Linked DNA regions of Homo sapiens: region 2 is linked to region 1. Evidence: promoter capture Hi-C in human tissues and cell types (Jung and others, 2019). All regions are on one chromosome and are shown on one strand. The core of a region is centred on a gene start or on the middle of the fragment in contact, and the rest is flanking DNA. Distances in the headings are between cores, read along the strand shown.

Region 1 (5,951 bases), core at 3,103-5,602:
CAGAAGTGTTTTTACTGGCTTTTCTTTATGTAAGTTTTTATTTTTACCATCGTTTTAATTTAAAAAATGCAGTCACACATTTTCCATGCATACCTCTAATTTATGGCAGGTTATACAGGTCTTGCAGTTATGGAAATGGTATAAAGTCTCCTTTTTGAGTGAGCATGTTAAAGTAAAAAGAGTGCTTCATTTAAAGAAAACTGTTCATAGAAGTACAGACGATATGCTGATGAGGCAAAAAACCATGATATTAGTGTGAGAATAAGTGAGGTTCCAGAAACACTGCATATGCCCAGGCTGCAGTGGAGAATGTCGTAGAATCCTGGATTCATAGAGTGTGGAGCCACGGTGAAGGGTGCATGAGAGAGCCCCTCCCCCAGAGCCACCCCCTGCCTTTCCACAAGGAATTCCCAAATGTCACCCAGTGGATTCTCAGACTTCTGTCTCCCAGTTCAGTGTTCTCCACCACAAAATCTGCACCTGATCAATCCCATGGTTCAGAGACAAAGCTGAGTGAGGGGCCCAGCAGGACATGGGCTTGCTGTGCCCAATGCCTGCTCTAATACGAGCTTTCCATATATCTGCTGAGTAAACTGATGGAGGTGGAGAGGTTTGGGGGAGTTCATTTGAAGCCCCCAGATATGCTCACTCTCCCAAGTCCTACCCCCTGCTTAGAAGTTAAGGCCAGTTCCTCGGATTTTACTTTCCACATCATATAGTTCCACATGGGAAACCAGAGGGTGTTCCCCAGGGAAAACAATAATATCCCCCCCGCCCCCCACCAACCAACTGCCACTTAAACAAGAGACGTATTGCTTACAGCTGAAGTGTTGCAGGGGAGTTATATGTATTAAGCAAAAATTAGATCTATTGTAAGGCTTGGTAGGCTCCAGCCTCACCCATCACAATCTGCAGAGTCATCATGAAGCAGAAAAAGGTGTCAGAGGCTGCAGCCAGACCCAGGCAAAACCTAGGAGTGGCCAAAAAATTCTGTTTGCACAATTGGCTGGTGTCACAAGCGGGCATGTGATTGAGCAGTGGTTCAGGAGAAGAACTAATCCTTATCTTTTATATTTTGTGAACACAGCACCACAAAATCTTCATAGGCCAAGAGCCAGGGCTGTTTCCCAGGTTGCAAAGGTCAGCTGACTAGGGCAACAGGGCAGGATGGTTAACAGGCACGCGCATGCGTGCACATGTGTGTGTGTGTGTGTGTGTGTTGTGCTGAGTGAGTGGGACTAGCCTTGCTTTCTATTTAGGAGGACCTCCCAATTTGTCCCTTGTGGATAGAGATAGGGATGCTTTTTATTAGCATGCAGTTTATCAGCCAGATTTCTGTCCTGGATAAAAGTAAGGGAGGAACCCTAAAGCTCAGGTCAACCTTTGTAGAGTCAGTTAGCTCTGGGGACTGATTCTCATGCTGTCAGAGCATCCTCATTCCCATCACAGAATGCCCCTCACCAGCCTGCACGTGGCTAGAATGAGTGCTAATGAGCATGCCTTTTTGAATTTGGGTCTCCAGAAGTTTCATTTCAGCTACAACTCATGGCCTTGGGCAAGAATCCATCAGCAGCTCTGGGACTGTCATGTGATTTATGGCTGCTGGTTGCCCAATCTTTCCTGATGTCAATAGTGGTGTGGCCTGGACAAGGGCAGGCTTGCCAAGTGACATTGGGAAAATAGAACATAGCTCCCCAGGTACCTGGTACATGGCTCCCATCTTTGTCCCTTCCTTCCTTCCTTCCTTCCTTCCTTCCTTCCTTCCTTCCTCTCTCTTTCTTTCTTTGTCTCTCTCTGTCTTTCTTCTTCTTCTTCCTCTTCTTCTTTCTTCCCTCCTTCTCCTTCTTCTCCTTCCTCTTTTTCTTCTTCTTCCTTTCTCCTTATTCTTGTAGAGATAGGGTCTTACTATGTTTCCCAGGTTGGTCTTGAACTCCTCTCTCAAGCAATCTTCCCACCTTGGCTTGCCAAAGTGCTAGGATTACCGAGCGGGAAGGGTTGCCACAGTGCCCAGCCTCCCCTGGCTATTTCTATCCCTTCAGCCCTACCATGCTAAGCCTGGGTCAATGAGCTGACAAGGCAATTTGCCTTAGATAAGGCTACTGATTAGAATATCTTCCTGATGTATAAAAGCAAGAGAAATGGCTGCCAGCCACCCTGTGCTGGAAGGCAGAAGCCTCAAGTTCTGGTTCTGACTTTGCCATTGAGTTGCTGTGTGACCTTAGGCAATCCCTCCTCATCTCTGGGCCTTAGTTTCTTTTGGGAATAAATAACGGAATTGAGTTGAGCCTATGTATTAGTCTACTTAGGCTGCCAGAAGAAAATATCACAGACTGGGTGGCTTAAACAACAGAAATCAATTTAAGATCGTGAGACAGCATTAATCTCACGGGGTTATTTTGAGAACTGAGATCCTGCATACAAAACTCTCGGCATAGTGTTTGCCACACAGTAAGCTCTCAGTAAATATTTGTCAATGAATGTATGAAGGAATAAAAGTGGAAAATGCAAATAAGTGAAACACTGACAAGATTACAGCCAGGAAATGGCTGTTGTAATTCTAATTAGATATATAGACTTCCAGTATTTTCCTATGCAAATAAAGACATATGTTACTACCAAAACGGGACCATATTATACCTATCTAGATTTTCAAAAATATTTCATTATTTTATTGAAATATAAGTCACATGTCATAAAGTTTACCTTTTTAAAGTGTACAATCTAGTGGTGTTTAGTATATTCCCAAAGTTGCACTAACATCATCACTATTTAATCCCAGGACATTTTTACCACCCCCAAGATAAAACTCATGCCCATTAGCAGTCACTCCTCATCCCCGTCTCTTTCCCCTTCCCCAGACCCTGTCAAACACTTTCTGTCTCCATGGATTTGACTATTTTGGAAATTACATATAAAAAGCATCATACGACATGTGGCCTTTTGTGGCTGGCTTCTTTCCTTTACCATGATGTTTTCCAGCTTCATCCACGTTGTAGCATGTTCTTCTTATGGCTGGATGATATGCCTCTGCACGCATACACCACACTTCATTTACACATTCATCAGGTCATGGACATGCGGGTTGTGCCCACTTTTTGACTAGGATGAATGACACTGCTCTTTGTGTACAAGCTTTTGTGTGGACATGCTTTCAGTTCTCTTCGGTAGACACCTAGGAGGGGAATTGCTGGGTCATATGGAAACTCTGTGTTGAACTTTTTGAGGAACTGCCTACACCGCACAACAGTTTATAACCTATTATTTTCTCCTTTCACAACGCATCCTGTCTTCATTGTTAATAAATAGCTGTGCACATCACTATTTTGAGTGAATACATCGTATTTCCTTAGCCAGCGGTACCACAGTGTGTTTAGTGAATTCCCTATTGTTGGACATTTAATAATCCCATGAAAGAGGCTTTGAGTGACTTCCTTGTGTCCCCAGCAGCTTGTAAATGACAGTTTTCCAGGTGTGCCCAGAGCACTCTGTATCCCCTTAATTTGGTGATTTCACATTGCCTTGACATCACCCCTACTGCTCCTCCACCCCATCTGTCTTGTCTACAATGGTGAGCCCCTTGAGAAGCTGAACCATGTCTTGAATTGGTCTTTGTATCCATTATACATGGCCAGGTGCCAAGCATTTTGGTAAATGTTCACAAAATGGATGGGTACTTGGATGGATGGATGATAACAGCCAGGGACTATGGGGGGACGGAGTTCATTTTTACATTCTGTCCAAAAATCCCTGCTTTGGAAAGTAGTGAGTTCTCTGACACCGATGGTGTGTGACAGGAGGCTGGACCAGTTGGCAGGATATTGTGAAGCTAATTCAGGCCTCAGAAAGGGGACTCGATGAAATTTAAGATCGCTTCCAAGCTTGAGAGCCTGGAAAGCTATGAAAACACAAGCCCTGGGAGCTGAGATATGTCCTAACTTACCCAGCTGAGCTGTGAGGTGTGAGTGGCTCTAACATTTTCCAGTTGTTTCTGAGGACCTCAGATCAAAGCTTCCCTTTGCCTAAAAGCATCTGCCTGCTGGTGTGGGCCCTTGGGGGCCGTCACAGTGCACTGAGGTTAGAGTCCTGCAAGGGTGAACCCTTATGTAACAAGTAGTTGGGCAAGTTTACAGCTCTCTGTAATCTGACAGTAGAGTCCAGACTGGTTTGATGAAAGAGGGTAAACTGTGGGTGGGCGTGGCCTGAGGCCCCACTAGAAGCCCAGGGAGATCTGAGGAAAGGGAGGGCTTTTCTGATCTCTCCCAATTAGAGGATTAGGCAATTGGCAGCGCAGGGCGGTAACTCTGGGCGGGGCTGGGCTCCAGGGCTGGACAGCACAGTCCCTCTGAACTGCACAGAGACCTCGCAGGCCCCGAGAACTGTCGCCCTTCCACGATGTGGCTCCGTGCCTTTATCCTGGCCACTCTCTCTGCTTCCGCGGCTTGGGGTGAGTCCTTCTGAAATCAAAATGCGGGGCACTTTTTGAAATCCTTGTTCTGGGCCGAGGTGGGCGCAGATGCGTAGAAAGGCAAAGACACAACAGGTCCGGCTCTGCGGCGGGGCACGACTTCCATATTAGGACTTGGACTTGGAGCAGCTGAGCCCGGCCAGCCTGGCCCGCGCGGAGACGCAGGGAGGGTGAACATCCTGAGATCGCCCTGTACTGCTCGCCCAAATGCAGGCCGACAGCCGGCCCACCTCAGGCCGCACACACGAGAAATTTAGGCAGCTCAGTTTGCTGTCCCTTAATTAGTCCCCTTACGGCTGGATCACGGAGAGCGGCTCAACATAATATTAAGAGCATCGACTCTGGAGCCAGAGTGCGTGGGTTCGAGTCCCCGCTGGGCGCTTCCTCGCTGTGTGTCCTTAGGCAAGGGACTGCGCTATTCCGTGCTTGGGTTACCCCCTCTCTGAAACAGAGGTGGCAGTGCTGCCTACCTCACTGGGCTTTGGTGAGGAGGAAATGGGTGGCTGTTTCTAAAGCACTCTTGGCAGCGCCTGGTATGTAGAAAGCACGAAAAAGGGATGGATAAATAAAGGCGCTGTTTAAAAACGTAGTGTATGAATAGAAAATTTGAGCTGTGGTCAGGCCACTATATCAGGACCTCTTGCCATTAAAAAGACAGTTTCTTACTCATGTTCTCAACAGGAGGGGGACACCAGTGCGCGGGGCACAAGGGGAAGCAGCAGAGCCTGGGGAGGGGACAGGGCGGATCTGAGGCCAAGGGGCTTTTACTGTGGCTTCCAAGGATAGAAGAGGAAAGGCAGGGCAGGCAGGCTGAGGACTGGCAAGTTGGGATACTTCAGGGGCTCTGGGGCACAGGGGCTGTTCCTAATTGTTTTGTACCTAGCCCTGGCATGATTAGGGCAGGTGGGTAGTGGCCAGGGCATGGCAACCCGATCAAAGAGGCAGTTGGGGTGTGGGCTCTGGGGTGGCTGGACCCTGGGAGGGAGTTTCTCCAAGGTCAACAAGGCCTCAGATGCCAGAGCATCAGAATACAGAAAGCAAAACACATGGTACATAGAGGGGTGCAGCGAGGGGCCTCGAAATACCCCCATGCCATTTTATAGACAGAGAAACTGAGACTCACACAGGGAAATGTACTTGCCCAGGGTCAACCCGAAAATCACGCCTAGGTCTGTCTCTGGGTCCTGAATCCTGACAGCCCAGCCCCGTCTGCATCCTGTCTTCCTTCTGGCAGCCTGACACTGCGAGAGCTCTGGAACTGTGGGGAAGGGCAGAGAAGAGAGGAAGCCTATTTGGAACTGAATGTTCCTTTACCTCTGGTTACTCCTGGCAATGCCATCCATTTCCTTCCTTAGGAAGACCATACAGGCTGCCTCCACTTCCTCAGTTTCCTCCTCTGTAAAATGGGCATGTTGATGCCTACCCAGCAAGGCTTATTTGAAGATTAATTTAAAAAACTGGAATGCATGCCTGGCACATAGTAGGT
Region 2 (6,246 bases), core at 431-2,930, 390 kb after region 1:
CTAGAGTGCAGTGGCACAATCACAGCTCACTGCAACCTCGACCTCTTGGGATCAAGCGATTCTCCCAGCTCAGCCTCCCAGGTAGCTGGGACTACAGCTATGTGCCACTATGCCTGCCTTCTTTTTGTTTGTGGAGACAGAGTCTCACTATGTTGCCCAGGCTGGTCTCAAACTCCATGCAATCTTCCCACCTTGGCCTCTCAAAGTGCTGGGACTATAGTCACGAGCCACCACGCCCGGTGCCCACACCATGCATCTTGAGCCACCACGCCTGGCACCCACAGCATGCATCTTACCCCAGGCCACATCCCTAGGGAGAGCTGGGACCAGAGAAGACCTCCTGCCCTGCGAGCTTCTTTTGACCTTTGTATCTGGGGCAATCAGCAGAGGTGACTGTACCATGGCACCCCACACCCAGTCCAGTTGTGAGAGGAAGGAGGTGGAGAGGAGTAGGTAGACATAGTAAAATAAATGTCATGGAAGCCAAATTTAGAGGATATGGAGAATGTCAAAGTGAGAAGCTGGCAGGTCATTTGGTCTAATGCTCTTGTTTTCTCCATGGGGGAAAGTGGGGAAGTTGACAGTTTCAAGGACACGTAGTGGCCCTGGAAAGAGAGAAGGGTCATTACAGTGGTTGTTATGGTCATTACAGTAGACCAGATTCTGAGACCTAACGTGAACCCTGGGCTTCCCCATTTAGCACTGCTTTCCCCTGAAAGCTTCATTCACTTGTCTACCCAGGGCAAGGGGAACTCCTGGCCATGTGCCTGGGGGCCTTTGCTCTCTCTTCCTGCTCCTCCAGAATAACTTCCCTTTGGGTAATTTTTCCATTACACTGTTCCCCTTTGGACTTTCAGAAATAAAAACCCAGCCCCCCTGGTGTGCAGTCACACTTGCGCCCTGAGGAGTAGTTAAAATTCAGCTTGAGGGGCACTTAGTGTCACAGAAGCCTAGATAAAGAAACAAGATTTCAGGCAGGAAGAAATAATAAAGAGGCAGGACTTCAAGTGTCCTGTGAAACACAACATTCGGCCTCCGGCACACACATCCGTGGGAGACGGCTCAACTTCTTTATAAAGTGGTGAGTTCTGTGTGAGCACAGATGCATTTTGTTTTCCTATGAGGAATCAATGATTAAATTATCAGAAAGCTAAAAACCAGGCTGCCTGAATATTCCCCGACGTGTCCCCTGTGTCTCCCCAGCACCTCCTGCTCAGGAGGTACAGGCTTTATCTCCAAAGCTTTAGTTTAAATGTCCAACACATCTTATTAATGAAAGTAATAAGCTGTTGTTTATTATATGTCATGATGGGGAATATGACTATTTAATATAAACCTGACATTTAAATTCCACTTAGTTATGAGACGTGGACGATATCAAGGCATAACTCTTTACCCTGGAGTAAAAACTCCCTGGGTCTGCATTTTAAAGCATTGAAATTTTCAAAGTAATCAGGTTCCTTTTTTTTTTTTTTTTCCAGAGGAACCAAATTGTGAAGACATCTGTTCTGTTATTAATTTCACATACATCTTAAGCTCCTCAAGGCCAGAAATGAGGCTTCATTCACGTCGAATTAATGAAACATGATTGTAAGTCCCTTGCTTGGAAATGCTGTCACACAGTTCTGAGCTGCTTATAAGCACTGAGTAATCTCTGAAACTGCCAGGGGACGGCCACTTGAAATCTGCCCTCCCCTCCCCCTGCCACCCAAAAACAATATCTGAATATATCACAACACTAACTATATCCTGAAAGATTAATAGCAGATAAAAATTTCTGGGAAATGAATCAGACTTTCTCAGTAAAGGATACAGAGATCTCAGGCAAAAGCAGATTGCATAGTGGAAGAGCTCTTTGGGATACAGTTTAATAACTGTGCCCCAGGCTGCCCCTGAATACACCCAAAAGGACGATGGTGGGCCAGGAAGGGGGTGGGGAGTCTTGGAATTTCTTGCAGAGATGTCTTTTGAGGGTGTGTACGAAAATGTACTGGAGGTGACACAGATGTGAAACTGGAAACTTGATCTGCGAAAGCATGATGTATGTGTCAGGTGTGTGGGAGAATGTGTGTGCATATGGAAACTGTGTGTGAATGCATGCAGGAATGTGTATGAGTCTACTTACATGTGGGTGAGTATGTGTATATCAGTGTGTGAGTTCGCGCACGTATGAGTGTGAAAATGTGTGTGTTGTGAGTTTGTGTTGGTGACTGTGTATGAGGGTATGTGTGTATGAATATGGGTGAGTTTGCATGTGTGAAAATGTCTGTGTTGCAAGTTTTTATTGGTGAGTGTGTATGAGGGTATGTGTGTATGAATATGGATGAGTTTGCATGTGTGAAAATGTGTGTTGTGAGTTTGTGTTGGTGAGTGTATATGAAGGTATGTGTGTATGAACATGGATGAGTTTGCATGTGTGGAAATATGTGTGTTTCGAGTTTTCATTGGTGAGTGGGCATGAGGGTATGCGTGTATGAATATGGATGAGTTTGTGTGTGAAAATAATTTTGTGTGTCTGTGGATGCATATGAAGGTGTGTGTGTGTGTGTGTGTGTGGTGAGTGGATGCATTGACATGCACAGATCTCTCAGGACAGACAGGAATCAGTCAGTCCGGGCTGGATCTTAAATAGCAGCTCAGCACAATACCATGCCCATCTGAGCCAGTCTTGAAAGGAGCTTGCTCTTGAGGTTTTGGGTTTGGGGGGCTTGATTTTTTTTTTTTGTCAAATAACTGAAAATGCCAGCAGAAAGATTGTCTGGAGGGAGGCATGAGATGGGGAGCCTGAGATTTCTTAATCAAACTTTCAAGTGTTATTTTTGGTCTTCCGCTGAGCTGGGACCAAAAAAGAATCTGCATATGATATTTACATCTCAAATCTTCAGAGCCTCATTAGCTTTGATAGTTATTTATTTATTTATTTATTTGCAAAAAGGAATTTAAATCAAACAGAGAGGCACAAAAGCAAAACCTTTGAATGTAGTGCAACATTAATTAAAACAGGCAGCCGAAGGGTAGAGTGAAATACAATGGAATCCAGAAAAAAAAAAAGACAATGAAACTAATTAGACTCTGATGGGAAGATCCTTCCTCGTTTGGTGATCATCCATTGGTAATTAATAAGTCACAAATATTGATGTTTGAAGAAAAGTGCCAGAATTTTAACCCCTGTTTTTCCAGAAGTTTAAAAAAAATTTCTTTAGATTCTGATCTTCTAAACTAAATCAGTCAAATGATTGGATGTTGAATTTTACAGTCATGTGTTGGTGACGGATGGGGATGTGTTCTGAGAGGCTATTTCATCATTGTGCCAACCTCATACAGTGTACTTACACACACCTAGATGGTATAAGCTATATGGAATAGCCTTTTGCTCCTAGGCTACAAACCGGTATAGCATGTATCACACTGAATACTGTAGGTAATTGTAACACCGTGGTAAGCATTTACATATGTAAATATAGAAAAGGTCCAGTAAAATTATGGTATAAAAAGTAGAGAATGGTACACCTGTATAGGGCACTTACTGTGAATGGAGCTTGCAGCACTGGAATTTGTTCTGTGTGAGTCAGTGAGTGAGTGGTGAGTGAAGGTGAAGGCCCAGGACATTACTGTATACCACTAGAGACTTTATAAACACTGTAGACTTAGGCCATGCTAAATTTATAAAAAATAAAGTAATTGCACTACAGTATTACAATGGCTACCGTGTCACTAGGTGATATGAATTTTTCATCTCCGTTATAATCTTATGGGACCACTGTCATATATGCAGCCTGTCATTGACCGAAACACCATTACACAGCACAGGACAATATTGTGTTCTGGGGGAAACAGACTAGCCTATACCAGCAACTGGTTAGCTCTCAACACCTGTCCTCAAAATAATGTGCAGGTGGATCGAATTCAACTGTCAGCGGATAAAGATATATCTAATACAAGAGATGCTGGACTCCAGCAGTTAGCATTAACCCAGTGGTGGAACCAACTTGTATATATGAATGGATACAATCCCAGCTAGATTTTTGCCCCTGTATATTTTGAGGCTTTGTTGTATGATCCATGCTTTGTAGATCTGTGAAAAACATTTCCAGGCATCCAGTTGAAAAACCCTTGACCAACAGTATAAAAACGACTTTTAGCTTTGCCTAAGCATAAGGCAGCATCAAAGGGGTCTGGCTTCCTTTTGGGAAGTTCTTTTGAATGAAGTGATCAGTTAGTATTTATGCTTTTTGTCCTTCTGTATTATGCAACAGCACAAATGCACAACTGCCCCAGTGGGACAATCTAATGCATAGCCAGCCAGTCACACAGTTTTAAAGTTGGACGCATGTGTCTTTGGCACGTCCCAGGTCTCCTTTCAACTTCTTTCAGAATCTCTTTTTTACCACCCTCCAGCCCAGCGCTTGAGGTTCTCAGGATGACCCTGGGTCATTTCTAGCTTAAAGAGAGTGGGCTTTGAGAAATATCTTGATAAGTGTTAGTGCAATTTTTAAAGATGGCTAAAATGCTAATGGTGAAATTTCAGGCTTTGTGGCAGTTGGATGAAAGGAATGTTTTTGAGCAAAAGATCTTTCCAACGATCCCTCAAACCTACAATGCATAAAAGTGGACTTGTTTAGATAAGTCAGTAAATTATGCCTAATCTCAGTTTTCCTCCATGTAAAGAGGAAGAAATTAAACTAGAAGTAGAATGATCTTTAAGGTTTATTAAAGAGAGAGAGAGAGAGAGAGAGAATGGTTTGCCATGTGCAAAAAAAGGCAAGGCTCTTCCTTATAAGTAGCACAGGGATTCATTCATTCATTCATTCATTCTGTGTGTGTGTGTGTGTGAGAGAGAGATCTCTGGGCCAAACCCTATATCACAGTTCTTTCACATCATTTCACCTACCCCTTACAACAACCTTTGAGGTGGGTATTCCTAACAGGAGTGGTTGTCAATTTATTTAACTATCAATAAGCCACAGATACTTGCCAATCAGAAAGAACACTGAGTTAAACACTAGAACAGGGTCCTGGAGACCCCTGACTGTGCCAGGTATTTGTTGCTAGATGAGGAAAGAGGTGGGGAGGAGCCAGGGTGCCTGGCACAATGAAGGGGAGATTGGGAAGCTATTTGACAACTGGCCTGGGAAATGCTCTAATTTTTAAACTGCTGGTATGGATTTTGTACTATTGGATATGGCTGAACATCAGCCGTGACTTTCAATCTCCCCATTCTGCAAAGGACAAAGCTGAGGCCCTGGGAGGTCATGAAAGCTTCTCAAGATAAACCCATCAAAAAGCGACAGGCTTGAGTTGAAGGCTACTTTAAGTCTTTGAGACTCCAAAGTTGGTGTTCTTAACCATTATGCTGACTGTACACATGTCTCTAAGTTGACCTCAGTCTGTGCCAGGCTGGCCTGGCATTTCTCTACAAAGAACTGGAGGAAAGTGGATCGGAGGAAAGATCTGGTTTGAGTGGGAGTAGAGTTGGCCGATTTAGTAAGTAAAAATACAGGACACACAGTTAAGTTTGAATTTCAGATAAACAACAAATAATGCTTTTGTATATTTTTAGCTTATTGCACGGGATATATGTACACTGAAAATTATTCATTTTTAATCTGATGTTCAAATTTAACTGGACATCTTGCATTTTATCTGGCAACACTACGTGTGGAGGGAGGGTCACAGGGATGCTAAGACATTTCAAATACCAAGACACTTCAATCTGAAGAAACATTTTCTTTGCTAGGAACTCCCTTTTGCAAAGTCAATGATATCAGCTGTAGTAAGAACACTTCTAACCTTACCCTGAGTACCTCTTTGATTTTAAAGTCATAGAATGTCAAGGCAGAGGTCATTTAAGCCAATACCCTGCCTCACTGTCTTTCTGCCTCTTTCTGTCCTCTCTCTGCCCAAGAAGGCAGAACCCACAGCACCGGCGCTGTGGCTTGGCTTTGAAGCCAAGGAGCATAGCCCACGAGGCATGTCCTCATCTCCAAAGCACATGGAAACTATTCCTTTCCTGAAGGTCTTCATGGTTAGCCTGCTGCAAGTCTCATGGTTTTTCAGCTGCAGTTGTAATTTCTATAGCGCCTCCATCCCAGCTCAGCTGGTATTTATTAGAACACATTCTTTTTGAAAAGAAAACTGTTTCTTAATTAAAGGTTGGCAATCCATAGCCTGTTTGCAGATGAGAAAAATTAAGCAACTACTATGAACAGCGCAGTGTGTCTCCTCTGTTGGTTAGAACATTGCTGT

What was found. Contacts are between HindIII fragments. The study calls those that stand out against the background at their distance.
Region 2: a contact is called between a fragment that was not itself captured here and the fragment with the promoter of CES1 in region 1, in 2 of the 25 tissues and cell types used here (H1 embryonic stem cells and dorsolateral prefrontal cortex).

The regions. Positions count from the first base shown.
Region 1 is chr16:55,831,497-55,837,447 of GRCh38, reverse strand. CES1 (carboxylesterase 1) reads left to right here and starts at 4,352. Exons shown (of 14, transcript NM_001025195.2): 1 at 4,352-4,444. The coding sequence starts at 4,393. The HindIII fragment of the contact is 6,998 bases long and covers 3,506-5,951 here.
Region 2 is chr16:55,439,457-55,445,702 of GRCh38, reverse strand. MMP2-AS1 (MMP2 antisense RNA 1) reads left to right here. Exons shown (of 7, transcript NR_147198.1): 4 at 1,482-1,590. Among named protein-coding and RNA genes, the nearest start is that of MMP2-AS1, 20 kb to the left of the region's middle. The HindIII fragment of the contact is 3,141 bases long and covers 110-3,250 here.